3 separate regions of the Homo sapiens genome follow, and regions 2 and 3 are each linked to region 1. Evidence: promoter capture Hi-C in human tissues and cell types (Jung and others, 2019). All regions are on one chromosome and are shown on one strand. Each heading gives the region's core, a stretch centred on a gene start or on the middle of the fragment in contact. The rest is flanking DNA. Distances are from core to core; before and after follow the strand shown.

Region 1 (2,700 bases), core at 186-2,685:
TCGGATGCCAAGGCAGGAGGATTGCTTGAGACCAGGAGTTTGAGACCAGCCTGGGCAACATAGGGAAACCAAGTCCCTACGTTAAAAAAAAAAGTATTAATAATTAAATAAATTGTTTAAGTCAATTAAAATTCTGATTTAAGTATTTGGAATTCAGGGAATCAAATTTTTCCTCTTTTGAGGAAATTATTCTTTTTTTCTTTTTTTTGGTTAAAGTTGATTTCACCAACTTTAAGATCCTCCCCAGTGGAAAACTGCATATATTAAACAACACATGGAAAGCAATAATAGCTAAACTTACCTGGCTATTACTGCCCACCAGGCACCATTTTATGTAATTATGCCCATAAACACATATTAAGCTCAGAATACTCTGCTGCAGATTTTTTAATATTCCCATTTTATTGATAAGGAGAAAGCGACAGAGTTGTTTCATAGTTAGTAATGTAGCAAGTTGTAAAGAGTTTCTGCTATAGCTAAATTTCCAGACATCTTTTAAGTCTCATACTTTGGGCTTTTACAAAATTTCTCCAATTAAAAGAATATTATCTGGGCCGGGCGCGGTGGCTCACGCCTGTAATCCCAGCACTTTGGGAGGCCGAGGCAGGCGGATCACGAGGTCAGGAGATCAAGACCATCCTGGCTAACACGGTGAAACCCAGTCTCTACTAAAAATATAAAAAATTAGCCGGGCGTGGTGGCGGGCGCCTGTAGTCCCAGCTGCTCCGGAGGCTGAGGCAGGAGAATGGCGTGAACCCGGGAGGTGGAGCTTGCAGTGAGCCGAGATTGCACCACTGCACTCCAGCCTGGGCGACAGAGCGAGACTCCGTCTCAAAAAACAAAAAACAAAACAAAACAAAAAAAAGAACATTATCTTAATTCTCATCATTAGCTTAGTTTGATGGACTATTTGCTTTATTTAACGGACCATTTGCTCATCTGCTCTATTTTGCTCACAAGGCAGAAAATATCAGAAGCAACAATATTTTGAAGTTTGCTTTCTTTCCTTCGGTTCAAATAACAAGAGTTAACCTGAGAGAGAGAAAGAAAAAGTAGGAAATTTAGAATTTGAAACCAAAGGGAAGGGACTGATATTTAACTTACCACAGTTTCTCCAACATGTATGCGATAACAAAAATATCTGATATTTGAAGACCTCATTTTTAAGCCCTAATCTTTGATATTATTTTTATAACTCGAGTGCCGTGACACCATCCCTGGGGCAACACGGTAGTGGGGAAATGGAGATATGCGCTATGCGTCAGACATGAAGGGTAAGGGAAGAATGCCGTCAACTCACAGGCACTGCTTGGGTGACAAAGGCTGGCAAGCGCGAGGACATCCGCAGGCAGCCAAAGGAGCAAGGACTTCCGTGAAGCAGCCGAAGCGCGGGCGCGGGGACTTCCGGGAGGCAGCTTGAGGCGCGTGTGGAAGCGCTTCCGGGCGGTAGCACGCTGTGTTGGCGGCGGCTCCCCGCTTGCCTCAGCTGCAGCAGCGGGAAGCTCGGTGGCAAGCCCTTGTAGTCCTGTGCGATGGCGTCTCGATATGACAGGGCGATCACTGTCTTCTCCCCAGACGGACACCTTTTTCAAGTTGAATATGCCCAGGAAGCGGTGAAGAAAGGATCCACCGCGGTGAGGAAGCAACTATTACCGGACTATTCCCCGCTCTGACCTGTCAGGCCATCGTTACCCTGCTGCCCCAGCCCACCTTTCCATCCTAGGAGCTCAAGAGAGGAGATTCCCACACTTGTGAAAATTACTTTGTTCTTTTTATTTAGGGAGACAGACTTCTAGATTTGGGCCGGAAGTGGGCAGAGTAAAAGTTAGTAGATTTCCCCTATCTCTGCTGTTCAACTGCCTCTGTTTCATGGTAGCTACAGACGCAAAACTAGGGTGTGTGTGTGGGTGTGTGTGTGTGTGTGTGTGTGTCTCTGTGTGTGTGTGTGTGTGTGTAGGGACGTTAATGATGTGATTGACAATAGGGAAAGCTTCTAATCTGTAACAGCCTACCTATTGAACGCTCGTGGTCCAGTTCCTTGGTAGTTCAGAGACCCCTGGAAAAGTTAACAGTTGCTTCATGTTGGGAACTGTTTTTTAATAACAGTTACAATAAAAAATAAAAGTTGGCCACACCTGCTCCCCAAATACGGACTAAATCAATATAAAATTAAACTTTTGTTGATGAAGAAATGATTAAAAACACAGTTCAAACACACGCGTTAAAAATATCCCAAAATTGCTGGGCGCAGTGGCTCACACCTGTAATCCCAGCACTTTGGAAGGCCCAGGAGGGCGGATCACCTGAGGTCGGGAGTTTGAGACCAGCCTGACCAACATGGAGAAACTCCGTCTCTACTAAAAATACAAAATTAGCCAGGCGTGGTGGCGCATGCCTGTAATCCCAGCTACTCGGGAGGCTGAGGCGGGAGAATCGCTTGAACCTGGGAGGCAGAGGTTGCGGTGAGCCGAGATCGTGCCATTGCACTCCAGCCTGGGCAACAAAAGCGAAACTCCGTCTCGGGAAAAAAAAAAAAAATCCCAAAATTGTCCCAATATTTCCCAGCCTTGTAGAGGCTCAAAAGTCCAAGAACTTCCACTTTTTTGGCCACTTAAAAAATAATGCTGGAAGTTCCTTGAGAGATTACACCCTACCTTAGATTTATGTATCCACATTACTGAAAAACTTAAAAAATACTCA
Region 2 (2,700 bases), core at 140-2,639, 33 kb before region 1:
CATCTTTGAATTTGGATTCAGAACCTATTTTAGTGGTGGCAAGACAACTGGCTTTGGCATGATTTTATAATTCTTTGGATTATGCAAAGAAAAATGAACGCAAATATAGACTTACAAGACATGGCCTGTATGAGAAGAAAAAGACCTTAAGAAAACAGCAAAAGAAATGCAAGAACAGAATGAAGAAAGTCAGGTGGACTGCAAAGGCCAATGGTGCCAGCAAAAAGTGAGCTAGAGATTGGGTAACAGTAGGAGTATGGATTCTGCAATGACTAATGACTTCATCTGTGCTGACTGCATAGATTTTTCACAAAAGGATTAATAAACTGAAAAAAACTTAAGAATTAAAGAAAAACATGAAAACAATGTTTCTCACCCCCAAAAATATTAAGATAAATATTATTAAAAACCACAAAAAACAAAAAAATCATTGAAATGCACAAAATCTAAAATAAAAAATTCATGAGAAAGGTTCAAAAGCAGATTAGAACTAGAAGAAAAAACATCAGTAAACTGCAGATATGTCAAATGAGATTATATAGTGTGAGAAACAGAAAAAATAATTAGGAAAAAGTTAACTTCATTTAGCCAGGGATGCAGGTATGGTTCAACATACATGAGTCAATAAATGTGATATATCACATTAACAGAACAAAGACAAAAACCATATTATCATTTCAATAGATACTAAAAAAGCATGTGATAAAATTCAACATCCCTTCCTTCATGAAAAAAAAAAAACCCAACAAACTGGGTATAGAAGAAACATACCTCAAAACAATAAAGGCCATATATGACCAACCTGCAGCTAACATCATACTAAACAGGGAAAAATTGAAAGCCTTTCCTCTACAATCTGGAAAAAGACAAGGATGTCCACTTCCACTACTCCTATTCAAGATAGTACTGGAAACCCTAGCCAGAGCAGTTACACAAGAGAAAGAAAGACAGGGCATCCAAATTGGAAAGGAAAAAGTCAAATTATACTTGTTTGCAGAACCATGATTTTATATTTAGAAACATATAAGATCGAATACAGTAAAGTTGCAGGATACAAAATCAACATACAAAAAAGTAGCATTTATATATGCAGTGAACAATCTGAAAAAGAAATCAAGAAAACAATCCCATTCACAATAGTTACCAAACAAAACAAAATATAAGAATAAATTTAAGCAAAGAAGTAAAAAAATCTACAAAGAAAACTGTAAAACACTGATGAAAGAAATTGAAGAGAACACCAAAAAATGAAAAGATATTCCATGCTAATGAATTAGAAGAATTAATACTGTCAAAATGTCCATACTATCCAAAGTGATCTATAGATTCAATGCAATCCCCATTAAAATACCAGTGACATTCTTTACAGAAATAGAAAAAAAACTGTATGAAACCACAAAAAGATCCTTAATACTCAAAGCAATCTTAAGCTTTGAAAGAAAAGAAAAGAAAGAAAACCAAAGAAAGAAACCAAAAGAAAGAAACGAAAGAAAGAAAACCAAAGCTGGAGGCATCCCACTATCTGACTTCAAAATATACTATTAATACAAAATGTATTATTAATACTATTAATACAAAATATACTATTAATACAAAGCTATAGTAGCCAAAACAACATGGTACTAACATAAAAAGAGACATGGTACTAACATAAAAACAGATGCATAGACCGATGGAACAGAATAGAGAAGCCAGAAATAAATCCACATATCTACAGTGAACTCATTTTCAACAAAGGTGCCAAAAACATACATTGGGAAAAGGACATTATCTTGAATAAAATGTGCTAGGAAAACGGGATAACCACATGCAAAATGAAACTAGACCCCAATCTCTCACCATATACAAAGTCAAATCAAAATGGATTAAAGAGTTAAATGTAAGACATGAAACTACTAGAAGAAAACATTGGGGAACGCTTCAGAACACTGATCTGGGCAAGATTTTTTTTTTAATTTTTTTTTTTTGAGACAGAATCTTGCTCTGTTACCCAGGCTACATTGCAGTGGCATGATCTCGGCTCACTGCAACCTCCGCCTCCCAGGTTCAAGCAATTCTCCTGCCTCAGCCTCCCAAGTACCTGGGATTACTGGTACATGCACCACCACGCCCAGCTAATTTTTGTAGAGACAGGGTTTCACCATGTTTGCCAGGCTGGTCTCAAACTCCTGACCTCATGATCCGCCCACCTCAGCCTTCCAAAGTGCTGGGATTACAGGCATGAGCCACCACGCCCGGCCGGGCCAAGATTTTTTGGATAAGACCCCTGAAACACAGGCAACAAAAGCAAAAATAGACAAATTGGATTATATCAAGCTAAAAAACTTCTGCACAGCAAAGAAAACAATCAAGAGTGAAGAGTCAACCTAAGGAATGGGAGAAAATATTTGCAAACTATTCATCTGATAAGGGATTAATAACCAGAATATATAAGGAACTCAATAGCAAAAAAGCAAATACAATCCAATTTTTAAATGAACAAATGATCTGATAGGCATTTCTCAAAAGAATACACGCAATTGATCAACTCCACTAATCACTGAAGAAATGTAAATCAGAATCACAGTGAGATATTATCTCACCCCAGTTAGAATGGCTATTTTCAAAAAGACAAAAGATAATTGTGGTAAAGATGTGGAGAAAGGAAACTTACACACTGCTGAGGGAAATGTAAATTAGTACAGCCATTATGAAAAAACG
Region 3 (2,700 bases), core at 142-2,641, 63 kb before region 1:
CAAATGGTGCCTACCACTTTGTATATGCTAATACTAGCAGATGATAAAAAATAAATTAACAGTAACTAATATGAAATTAAAACATAGAAATGCCATTTCTTCAAAGTATGTTTGAGAAGGAAAAATCTGCATACACAAAAAAATAGTCACACTTTCTACTGGTAAAATTGTTCCTAGGTGCGGGGAGGGGATGAGGATTGAAAAATGACCTATTGGGTACAGTGTTCCTTACTGGGGGTAATGGGTACACTAAAAGCTCAGCCTTCACCACCACACAAGAAATCCACGTAACAAAACTGCACTTGTACCCACAAACCTATAAAAATAAATTAAAAATGGTTCCTAATTATGAAAATAAGTATGTCAATAGTTTGTTGTTTCAGAAAGTAAACACCAACTGAGAACCAACATTTAAATGATGCCTGCAAGGTTTACCAAGATAGGGCCCTATCTATCTACACTAAATGGAGCCAGAGTAGTGCACATTTTGAATTGTCAGCTTTTTATAAATTTTATGTCTATTTCTATGCCATCTTGGCTGTCAGGTAACACTGCATGTATATATGTCTGCTTATAGAACAACTTCTCCCATTTTTGCTATTTGCTGTCTCCTGGCTTAAAATTAAGAAAACAAGTCTGTTAAAATATGTGTAAGGTGAAGAGTAGTTCCCTTATAAAGTTATAATGCTTTGGCATTAAGAAAAAAGACACAAGGCTGAAACTAAGAAGTAAAATGCCTAAGTGTTAGTGCACTGGCATTAGAAGTTATTTTTCTCCTTTTATTCTCAGTGTTTAGATTCTTGACTTTTAGATTCTAGCTAGTGCTCGATCTTGGCCAGTTCCAAACACACGAAATAGAACTATAAATAAATAATTCTTCTCTTGAGATGACATGGGAAAAAACTGAAAGTTAAACTTATATATAATTATGAACACATTTCTAATTCCCACCCCATTCAACTGAAATGAAGTGAAAAACCCCATTCTAGAAAACTTAAGTAAAATCATCCTAAAACATAATAGTTTTTTCAGACTCAAGTATCTCAAACTATAGTTAGTAACATCCTCTCAGCAAAGAGCAGAAAATATTTTTAAAATGCCAGAGCAGATCTAAAAAAGAACTTATAGAAATTCTAGAAATAGAAAAATATATATTAGGAACTCAAGGGATAGGTATAACAGATTAGGCCCAGTGAAAAATGAACTGGAAAACTGGTCAGAAAAAAATATACTTAGAATGATAAATGGTTGGAAAAGTCTGAAGGGATTAAGAAACATAAAGATACAGTTACAAGGTCTAGTCTAAGTTTAACTGGAGTCTTATGGAAGAATTATTTGCTTGAAGAGATAATGACTGAAAACTCCCAAAACTGATGAAAGACATGAACCTACAGATGTCAGAAATCCCAACAGGCACCAAGCAAGATAATTAGAAAGAAATCTTCCAATATCTAACTACAGTGTGAGAAAAAATAAATTTAAGAAAACAGAAATCCACACCTAAACATACTAAAACCACTAAAAATCCTAGACAAAGCAAAACTCTTAAATGCAGTCAAATAAGCAGATTATGTTCAAAATATCAACAATTACATTGATATCTGAATTTTCAATAGATACAAGACAGAAAACAACGCAAGGATAAATGTAATGTGCTAAGTAAACAACAACTAACCTAGTATCTGTCCTTGGAAAATATCTTCTAAGAATCATGGTGAGCCAGGTGTGGTGGCTCATGCCTACAATCCCAGAACTTTGGGAGGCCAAGGCAGGAGAATCACTCGAGGCCAGGAGTTTAAGACTAGCCCGGGCGATATAAGACCCCATTTCTCCAAAAAATACAAAAATCAGCCAGGCATGATGGTGTATGCCTGTGGTCCTAGCTTCTCAGGAGGCTATGGCAGGAAGATTTCTTGAGCCCAAAAGTTCGAAGCTGCAGTGAGCTATGATCATGCCCCTATGCTCTGGCCTGGGTGACGGAGTGAAACACTGTCTCCAGAGGAAAAAAAAAAGAATGATGGTGAAATAAAGGCATTTTCAGACCCAGACCAAAACAAAACAAAAATACTGAAGGTATGTCTCACCAGCAAAGCAGTGCTAAAGGAAATACTAAGGAATGTTCTTTAGGAGGTGAAAAAAAAAGTGATCTAAGCTAGAAGGTCATAAATGAAAGGAGGAACAGAAAGCATCAGAAATGGTAAGTAACTATGTGGATGATCTAATGAACACTGACTTCAAAAAAAAGACAGTAATAACAACCACTTGTGGAAACATATAGAGACTTAAAATACATTACAACAACAACGAAAAGGTCATTGAGGGAAGGAACAGAAATGAAGTATTTTATGGTCCTTTGATTGGGATGTATATTATAATCTATACAGTAACCACTAAAAGAATAGTAAATATGTAAGATTTCCCAACTAGAAAGAAAAAAAAGGAATAATAAAAAACAAATTAATTATTGGCCGGGCACAGTGGCTCACACCTGTAATCCCAGCACTTTGATTGCTAGACTGAGTTAAAAAAAAAAAAAAAAATCTACATCCTACTCATAATATCGTTATCTCTAACACAAGAAAACAGAAAGGAGGATAATACCATGCAAACACCAAAGAAAGCTTATTTAGCTATGCTAATATCAGATAAAGTAGACTTTAAAAGCATTACTAAAGATAAGAAGGGATAATTCACAATGAT

Evidence for each region. Contacts are between HindIII fragments. The study calls those that stand out against the background at their distance.
Region 2: a contact is called between a fragment that was not itself captured here and the fragment with the promoter of PSMA8 in region 1, in 3 of the 25 tissues and cell types used here (H1 embryonic stem cells, spleen and stomach).
Region 3: a fragment that was not itself captured here is called in contact with the fragment with the promoter of PSMA8 in region 1 in 2 of the 25 tissues and cell types used here (pancreas and stomach).

What each region holds. Positions count from the first base shown.
Region 1 is chr18:26,132,434-26,135,133 of GRCh38, forward strand. PSMA8 (proteasome 20S subunit alpha 8) reads left to right here and starts at 1,436. Exons shown (of 7, transcript NM_001025096.2): 1 at 1,436-1,634. The coding sequence starts at 1,533. The HindIII fragment of the contact is 10,391 bases long and covers 1-2,700 here.
Region 2 is chr18:26,098,997-26,101,696 of GRCh38, forward strand. It overlaps the pseudogene RPS24P18. Among named protein-coding and RNA genes, the nearest start is that of SS18, 9.7 kb to the left of the region's middle. The HindIII fragment of the contact is 5,582 bases long and covers 1-2,700 here.
Region 3 is chr18:26,069,832-26,072,531 of GRCh38, forward strand. The region is part of intron 3 of SS18 (SS18 subunit of BAF chromatin remodeling complex); the gene reads right to left. Among named protein-coding and RNA genes, the nearest start is that of SS18, 19 kb to the right of the region's middle. The HindIII fragment of the contact is 5,655 bases long and covers 1-2,700 here.